Regions from separate parts of the Homo sapiens genome. Here all the other regions are linked to region 2. The links are contacts of gene promoters, found by promoter capture Hi-C in blood cells and fetal thymus (Javierre and others, 2016). All regions are on one chromosome and are shown on one strand. The core of a region is centred on a gene start or on the middle of the fragment in contact, and the rest is flanking DNA. Distances in the headings are between cores, read along the strand shown.

What was found. The method cuts DNA at HindIII sites, captures the fragments that hold promoters and counts their contacts. A CHiCAGO score of 5 or more calls a contact.
Region 1: a contact is called between a fragment that was not itself captured here and the fragment with the promoter of SRSF11 in region 2, in 1 of 17 cell types (total CD8 T cells). The highest score is 5.2, in total CD8 T cells.
Region 3: the fragment with the promoter of RABGGTB here is called in contact with the fragment with the promoter of SRSF11 in region 2 in 9 of 17 cell types (total CD4 T cells, naive CD4 T cells, non-activated CD4 T cells and 6 more); the score reaches 19.0 in total CD4 T cells.

Annotation. Positions count from the first base shown.
Region 1 is chr1:63,529,381-63,532,080 of GRCh38, reverse strand. EFCAB7 (EF-hand calcium binding domain 7) reads right to left here. Exons shown (of 14, transcript NM_032437.4): 3 at 50-261. It also overlaps the pseudogene RN7SL488P. Among named protein-coding and RNA genes, the nearest start is that of EFCAB7, 7.2 kb to the right of the region's middle. The HindIII fragment of the contact is 200 bases long and covers 1,310-1,509 here.
Region 2 is chr1:70,220,101-70,222,800 of GRCh38, reverse strand. It overlaps SRSF11 (serine and arginine rich splicing factor 11), which reads right to left and starts at 1,421. Exons shown (of 12, transcript NM_001350605.2): 1 at 962-1,421. The coding sequence starts at 1,164. RefSeq lists a silencer at 1,037-1,086 and an enhancer at 982-1,527. The HindIII fragment of the contact is 2,724 bases long and covers 1-2,375 here.
Region 3 is chr1:75,784,942-75,787,641 of GRCh38, reverse strand. It overlaps RABGGTB (Rab geranylgeranyltransferase subunit beta), which reads right to left and starts at 1,386. Exons shown (of 9, transcript NM_004582.4): 1 at 1,368-1,386; 2 at 38-145. The coding sequence starts at 1,370. It overlaps SNORD45C (small nucleolar RNA, C/D box 45C), which reads right to left and starts at 570; the gene lies at 493-570. RefSeq lists a silencer at 1,295-1,354 and enhancers at 1,415-1,644, 2,585-2,700. The HindIII fragment of the contact is 7,492 bases long and covers 656-2,700 here.

The sequences.
Region 1 (2,700 bases), core at 160-2,659, 6.7 Mb after region 2:
AGCTGTTTTAGAAAATATGCACATTACAAAACAGTTTTACAGATCTTACCTTTGTTAGAAATTTATAAAGGTCAGTGTGTAAAATACAGCCATCATCATTTACATCTAATTGCTTAAATGATTTTAGTAGTTCTGCTTTTGAAGTAGGTTTTTCCTTCCTTAAAATTATACAAAAATCATCAAAATTCAGTTTGGCAGTTTGAGGAGTCCAATACTTATTAATGGTCTTTTGGGATGGATTTCTTCCTGCATGCTGAAGAGCTGCCCAACAAGACAAGTATTATTTGTGATTGTAACACCTGGAATTTGTACTTAAGCGCATTTTTTTCTTCAAATCATTATGTATTATGATATTTACAAAACACTATACATATACCAGTACATTACTTTGGTGTTGACTTATCTAGTGATACCAAGATAGGCCTGACTTTGAAAAACAAAAATATTTATGCCACCACCTAAACATTCTTTAATTATTAATACCAGAATTAAATAGATTTTCCTTATTCTGACAGTTTGGTTCTCAACCTACATGGTTTAAATAACTAACAATATCTGATTACTTAAGAGCTTCTAAAAGCTTCTAAAGGAAATACAAGATTAAAAACAACCATCCACTTAATTGTTTGGGGGACAAAAGGATAACACAAAAAGTATAAATTAGTACTTTTTCTGGCTAAATAAATACCTTAATGACTATTCAGCCATAAAGAAGGAGGAAATCCTGTCATCTGCAACAACATGGATGAACCTGGAGGACAACATGTTAAGTGAAATAAGCTAGACGCTGAAGACAAATACAGCGTATCTCACTTGTGTGGAATCTTAAAAAAAAAGTTAATATCCTAGAAGTAGAGAATAGATCAGTGGTTACCAGAGACTGGGAAGGGGAACTTAAGTACTATCTAAGTACTCTGGGGGTAGGGGAGGATGGGGAGAGGTTGGTCAATGGGTACAAAGTTACAATCAGATAGTGGGAAATAGGTTCTGCTATTCTATTGCACAGTATGGTGACTATAGTTAGCATTAAGGTACTGTATATTACAAAACAGCTAGAAGAGAGGCTTTTGAATGGTCTCACCACAAAGAAAAGATAAATGCATGCAGCGACGGATATACTAACTACCTTGATTTGATCATTATACAACATATAAATGTATTGAAATGTCAAATTGTACCCCATAAATACATACAATGTGTGAATTTAAAAAACAAATATCTTAATGAAATGAGAAAATCATTCATTTAAGAATACCAATGTCAATAAGGCACGATATCTAAAATGTTCATCTTTGCTAGGTACTAAGCTTTCAAAAACATTAATCATGTTCCAAATGTCAAATATATGCACATAAAGTATCCCTTTGCAGGCATGGTCCTGCTAAAAATCAAGAATGTCAATATACTGTGAGAGAAGATTATTATAGAGATGCTATGGTCAAACTACTCTTCATTTTTAACCATATCCTTCTATCTATGAAGAGCAAAGAAGTACATGTGAGAAAAGCTTTGTATATTTATGTATGTCATATCACTCTAAAATAAAATGGTTAAAGCAACTGCAGATATTTTGAACAGTTGAATAGAAGTAACTTGGTAATTTGCAAATAAATCTCTGCATACTGAAATATAACATTTTCTAAAATGAACCAATGATAAATTTCCTAAGCACCACAGAAGGAATTAACATAATTTTAAAAGATACAATTGTCCTGAATTGTACTGCCAAATTCTATTACAAAATCTTATATTGGATAGTTCCAACTATCTTTATAGAAATTCACAAGATCTGCGCATCACCAATCAGCATCAAAAAATGATAATCTGGATATTGTACAATTTAATGTAATAAGGACCAGTAAGTATAAAACAATTTCACTAAAGAAATATCCTCATGGAAATAGAAACCAGATCAGGGTAATAAATACAGATATAAGTGAGTCAGTTATATTGAACATTATTGTGCACAAGTATAGTATAGGGTGATTTTTGTTCATCAATACAAACTTTTTAGTTCCAAAGAAATTTTATATTCTAGACTGGCGTGGTGGCTCACACCTGTAATTTGGGTTTACAATTATACTTTGGGTGGCCGAGGTGGGCAGGTCACCTGAGGTCAGGAGTTCAAGACCAGCCTGGCCAACATGGTGAAACCCTGTCTCTACTAAAAATACAAAAATTAGCCGGGCCTGGTGGCCTGCGCCTGTAATCCCAGCTACTTGGGAGGCTGAGGCAGGAGAATCGCTTGAACCTGGGAGGCGGAGACTGCAGTAAGCCGAGATTGAGCCACTGTGCTCCAGCCTGGGTGACAGAGGAAGACTGCATCTCAAAAAAAGAAATTTTATTTTATTATTATTATTATTTTTTGAGATGGAGTTTGGCTCTTGTTGCCCAGGCTGGAGTGCAATGGTGTAATCTCGGCTCACTGCAACCTCTGCCTCCCGGGTTCAAGTGATTCTCCTGCCTCAGCCTCCCGAGTAACTGGGATTACAGGCATGCACCACCACCCCCAGCTAATTTTGTATTTTTAGTAGAGACGTGGTTTCTCCACGTTGGTCAGGCTGGTCTCAAACTCCTGACCTCAGGTGATCCGCACGTCTCGGCCTCCCAAAGTGCTGGGATTATAGGCATGAGCCACCGCGCCTGGCAAGAAATTTTATAATCTAAATAGGAAGTCTACATCTGACTGTAAAATTGCTA
Region 2 (2,700 bases), core at 172-2,671:
ACCATAACAGTAGATTCTTAGAGGATTCCAATTTCCTGTTTAGTATTTAAGTGACATCATAAAATTCTCAATATATGATATTTACTGATAATGACATTTGAATTGTCACTTCTCCACCAATAAGTCTTCCAAAAAGCACAAGACTATTATTATTATTCCAATTGTCTGTTTTAGTAGTACACTTTATCTTACTTCTTAGCTTCTTTGAACTATTTTTTCTTTACAATTCATCCACTTAATATTCTTGCGATAGAAATAATTTTCAAAATAAAAGTGAGACAAAAAGGATAAAAAGTCATACACTCTAATTCAAATTTCAACATTTATAAAAATCCTTCTCAAGAACAACTGTGAAATATCACAAATCTGTATATTATTCAAACAAAGGAAAATCTCTGGTTTATAACCCGTTTTTTGACATTATACAAATTAAGTAATCAGGCTCACACTAAACTAAGCGTCTGTCAAAAAGAATATGATCTTTGAATTATATTGCTGGGCCAGAACCACATAACAGCAATAACAATAAGTGAACAACCTACAAAGTTTAACACCAAATTAACACAGGCATGAATAATTTTGTTACCTTTCTTCCAAGAACGCAAAGAACAAATACTCAGTTTTTTAAAAAAGGGATTTAACCTATATACGACGTACAGACTGCGGTTAGTCTTGCGTTAAGTCCCCAAAGCCAAACGACCACGTTGGCACAATTTAAGGCGGAAAAAAAAAATTTCCCGAGAATAACAGCCAGTGTTTCCTAATTCCAAAAAGCCCTGGCCCTGCCTCTCTGCATTTTTTTGTAGGCCTGGAACACAACCGTCTTAAGTAAATCCACCAGCCACCAGCCACTCAAGCAGCCTGGCCCGGGGAAGCAGCGACAGGGGCCTAAGGAAATTGTGTGTGTTAGGCCCAGGCTGAGGCGGCGTTAGCAGGAACAGTGATGGTGGACGATACTCACTCCGGCGGGAAGAGGCGCAGTTCGTCGATCTTGCCTAGGAAACCGAAGAGAGTCCGCATCTGCTCAGAGCTAGCGCTCGGGGAGACATTAGTCACCTGGATTACCTCGGTGCCGCCGCCTCCGCCGCCACCACCACCTCCGCCACCGGGCCCGCCGCTGGGGCCCGGACCTGCAGTGCTGGGGACGACGGTAGTGTTGCTCATGGCGCTGCTCGGGTTCTCGCTCCTGCTTTAACACATCAAACACACAACAAACAGTGAGAAGGAGGGGGAAGAGGAACCGGATTGCGGGAGAGAGGAGGGTGTCCGATGCTACAGCCTCTGCTACTGCTGCCGATGCCGCCGCCGCCGCCGCCGTTTCTCCGCCCCGCCGCACGCCGCGGGGGAGGGGATGAGAGCGCGCGAGCTCGAGACCACGAGAAAACAAACGGCCGCCCCACCTCGCCTCCAACCACGACACTAGCGGGCCCGAGCTCCCACAATGCTTTGCGGCGCAGGGCGCGTCAGCGTCGGCTCCACCCCGCGCAGGCCCAGCAGCCGTCGCCTGCAGCCCGAGAAATGAGAGGCACCGGGGTCTAGAGAAAGGTGTTATCCACCTTCGTCTCTCGTTTTATTCTTCTTTTTCTTCTCTCTTTTTTTTTTGGAAGAGCGAAGAGGCACGTATAAACTTTTTTTTTAAAAAAAGCATTCATCCTCCTGCAAAAGTCACTTCAGCAACTCTTCTTATTAAATACTGCTCACGATGTCTTTATATACTGATAATCATCTACAGAGCTATCCGATTACTAATGATATTTAAACCCAAGCTAAGATGCCACCCCACCACCACCAGTATAAAATGTCCCGAAATTTTCAATGTACATGAATTTTGGTAACATTAAATCTGTAACTAATTTGTTTTGTCACTAAAACTTTCAGAAAAGATATATTTTAATATTACACTTATTAATAAGCGTTTTGTACATTCATTCACAATGGATGACTTTTTTTTTTGAGACAGAGTCGCCCTGTCGCCCAGGCTGGAGTGCAGTGGCACCATCTTGGCTCGCTGCAACCTCCACTTCCCCTGTTCAAGCCATTCTCCTACCTAGGCCTCGGGAGTAGCTGGGATTACAGGCGCCTGCCACGACGCCAGGCTAAGTTTTGTATTTTTAGTAGACATGGGGTTTCACCATGTTGGCCAGGCTGGTCTCCAACTCCTGACCTCTGGTGATCCACCCGCCTTGGCCTCCCAAAGTTCTGGGATTACAGGCGCGTGAGCCACTGCACCCAGCCAATTCCACAATAGCTGACTTTGGAAACACAGTTTATAGTACTTAAATATATTCAAGTATATATTTCTAAAGAAAATACTGCAATTTCTCAAGAAAAACTTGTTTCACATACATATTCTTGCTTAAAATAATTTTGAAGCTTTTGACTATTAAAAAAATCCTTGCTTTTGTTTTCAACCTCATCTGAACTATTCTCTCAACTGCATCCAGTGTGTAGTCCAGTGACTTGTAGTGCCCCAAACATGACAAAAACCATAATGTCTCTGTGCCGATACACAAGTTATTAATAACATCACTCATCTTATCTGTCATCTTCTGTAGAGCATTCCTTCCCTCACTGCTATGACTTCTGCAAGCTGTTAGGGCTTCCTCTTTTCTGCTAAGTAACAGAAGATACATGTATTTATTATTGACATGTATCACTCAAAGTTGTGAGCTTCCTGGGTCAGTCCAGAACCTGGCACAA
Region 3 (2,700 bases), core at 137-2,636, 5.6 Mb before region 2:
TAAAATAAACTTTCCAACATAAAAAAATTATACATACATAATCATCTTTCTTTGAGCCATAGGATGCGATATAATCTGCATGTTTCTCCAATAACAAAGTGTCCGGTGCATCTGACTTGATAATAACATCCTTCTGTGGAGTGCCCTTTCAAAATAAAGTGGTAATCTCATCAATGTTTACCTCTACAACGTTCTTCTGCCCCACAGCATAGATTCAACATACATCTCAATTTTCACTTGATTTCATCTTGTAATAGGAAAACGTTCCATTTAAAAATTGTAACTAACTAGGGAGGCTGAGGTAGAAGATCGCTTGAGCCAGGGAAATTAAGGCTGCAGTGAACTGAGGTTGTGTCACTGCACTCCATCCTGGGCGACCGGAGACCGACTCAAAAACAAAACCAAAACAACAACAACAACAACAAATTGTATCCAACAAAAAAGAACTTAAATCATTCAGGCTTCGTCTTAGTCACGATTCAGGTAATTTTCAGGTCTCAGAGTAATTCTAGAGCTAAAGTAGTAATAATCAACTTTAGATTCAGAATACATGCCAACTCATCATTGACCCAAAAAATTACCACCAGCATTTCTTGTTGTTCACTTTTCATTCAAAAAGATAAGTAAAAAATAAACACCATAGAATATCAAAGCTTATCATTTCAGGACAACTTACGGTTTACATGTGGCAGAAAGCATATTTTTAAAAAATAAAAAAATCTAACCCTTAACTTGCAAGCGAATTCTTGCTTAATCAAATGCAGGTTTCAAAGCACCTTCTAAGTACCCCAAAAGTTGTTCAAATGTATTAAATAAGCAGTTCCTTTAGCTCCATCTTCTCCACCTTTAATCCGAGTCTCTGTATTTGCAGAAGTCCCCATGTGATGCGGCTCTAGTTCTTTTCGTATCTATATCTTCCTCATTGAGAGTACACTGCAGTCACTATAACAGGTCATGAAGATTACCGGAAGTGATTAAGTACCGAATTTTCTTCTGATCCCATTAAAAATCTTAAAGCGAGACCACATCACTAACGATTTTAAAGAAATCTTTGACACCCCCTCTCCAAGAAAAAAAAAAGCCACCAATCAGCCACAGCTTTTTAGAGGGGTTCAGAAATCGGGCTGCTCAACTCTTAACAGGCCCTCCCTACAGAAGAAGGCCTGGATAAAATTAGAAGCGGCATTGCCCGCGAGGTCTGCAGAAAACGCTGAGTAATATTTCACACTCAAAAAACCTTCCAAGGCCTGTGTCCTAACCATTCTCCAGCACCAGGAAACCAATCCTAAGGTGACCAGTGTGCTTAACCCTACTCCACCCTGTCTGCTACCAACCCATCCGGACAGCAGCGCTAAACTCACACTTACCATGTCTAACAGGGAAAGGAGAGAGCAGGGTCAGTTCCTGGGTAGACTTAGGAGCCGGGCGCCTGCGCAGATGCGCCTCTCAGGCCCCCATCGCGCTCCGATATAGCTGACCACACTTTCGCCTGCAAGGCAGAGCAGTTCCACGGCTGCCGTAGGACCCCACTGATCGCTCATAGGTGTCCTCACTGCCTGCGTCCAAAGTCCTGCGACCATATGCTTGTCCCATAGTCACTCCGATTTGTCTAGAAACAGTTTTAAATAATATTTAAATATCTGAGTTGCTTTTAAGAAATCATTTGTTCTAGCTGGACGCGGTGGCTTACGCCTGTAATCCCAGCACTTTGGGAAGCCGGACAGCAGGATTGCTTGATCCTAGGAGTGTAACCACCCAATATTGTGGTTCACTTTGCCTGCTGCTGACCGATAGCCCATTTATCAAGACAGGGGACTTGCAATGGAGTCTCCCCAAGCAGTATTCAGAGTTTTTAAAGATAATTCGGCGATTAGGGGCTTGGGAAGTAGGGAGTGCTGATGGGTCAGGTTGGAGATGGACTCATAGTGGGTAGACGTGAGTTTTTCTTGCTGTTTTCTGTTCCTGGGTAGGATGGCAGAACTGGTTGAGCCAAATTACCAATCTGGGTGGTTTCAACTGATCCATGGAGAGCAGGGTCTGCAAAATATCTCAAGAACTTATCTTAGGTTTTACAATAGTGATGTTATCCCCAGGAGCAATTTGGGGAGGTTCAGAAACTTGGAGCCAGAGGCTGCATGACCTCTAAACTGTAATTTCTAATCTTGTAGCTAATCTGTTGGTTCTGCAAAGGCAGACTGGTCCCCAGGCAAAAAAGCGGTCTTTTTGGGAAAGGGATATTATCAATTTTGTTTCAGAGTCAAACCATAAACTGAATTCCTCCCTAAATTGGTTCAGCCTAGGCTCAGGAATGAAGAAGGACAGCTTAAAAGTTAGAAGCGGCCGGTGGCTCACGCCTGTAATCCCAGCACTTTGGGAGGCCAAGGCGGGCGGATCACGAGGTCAGGGGATCGAGACCATCCTGGCTAAAACCCCGTCTCTACTACAAATACAAAAAATTAGCCGGGCGTGGGGGTGGGCGCCTGTAGTCCCATCTACTCCTGAGGTTGAGGCAGGAGAATGGCTTAAACCCGGGAGGCGGAGCTTGCAGTGAGCAGAGATCACGCCACTGCACTCCACCCTGGGCGACAGAGCGAGACTAGTCTCAAAAACAAAAGTTAGAAGCAAGATGGAATCCGTTAGGTCTGATTTCTTTCACTGCCATAATTTCCTCAGTTATAATTTTGCAAAGGCGGTTCCAGG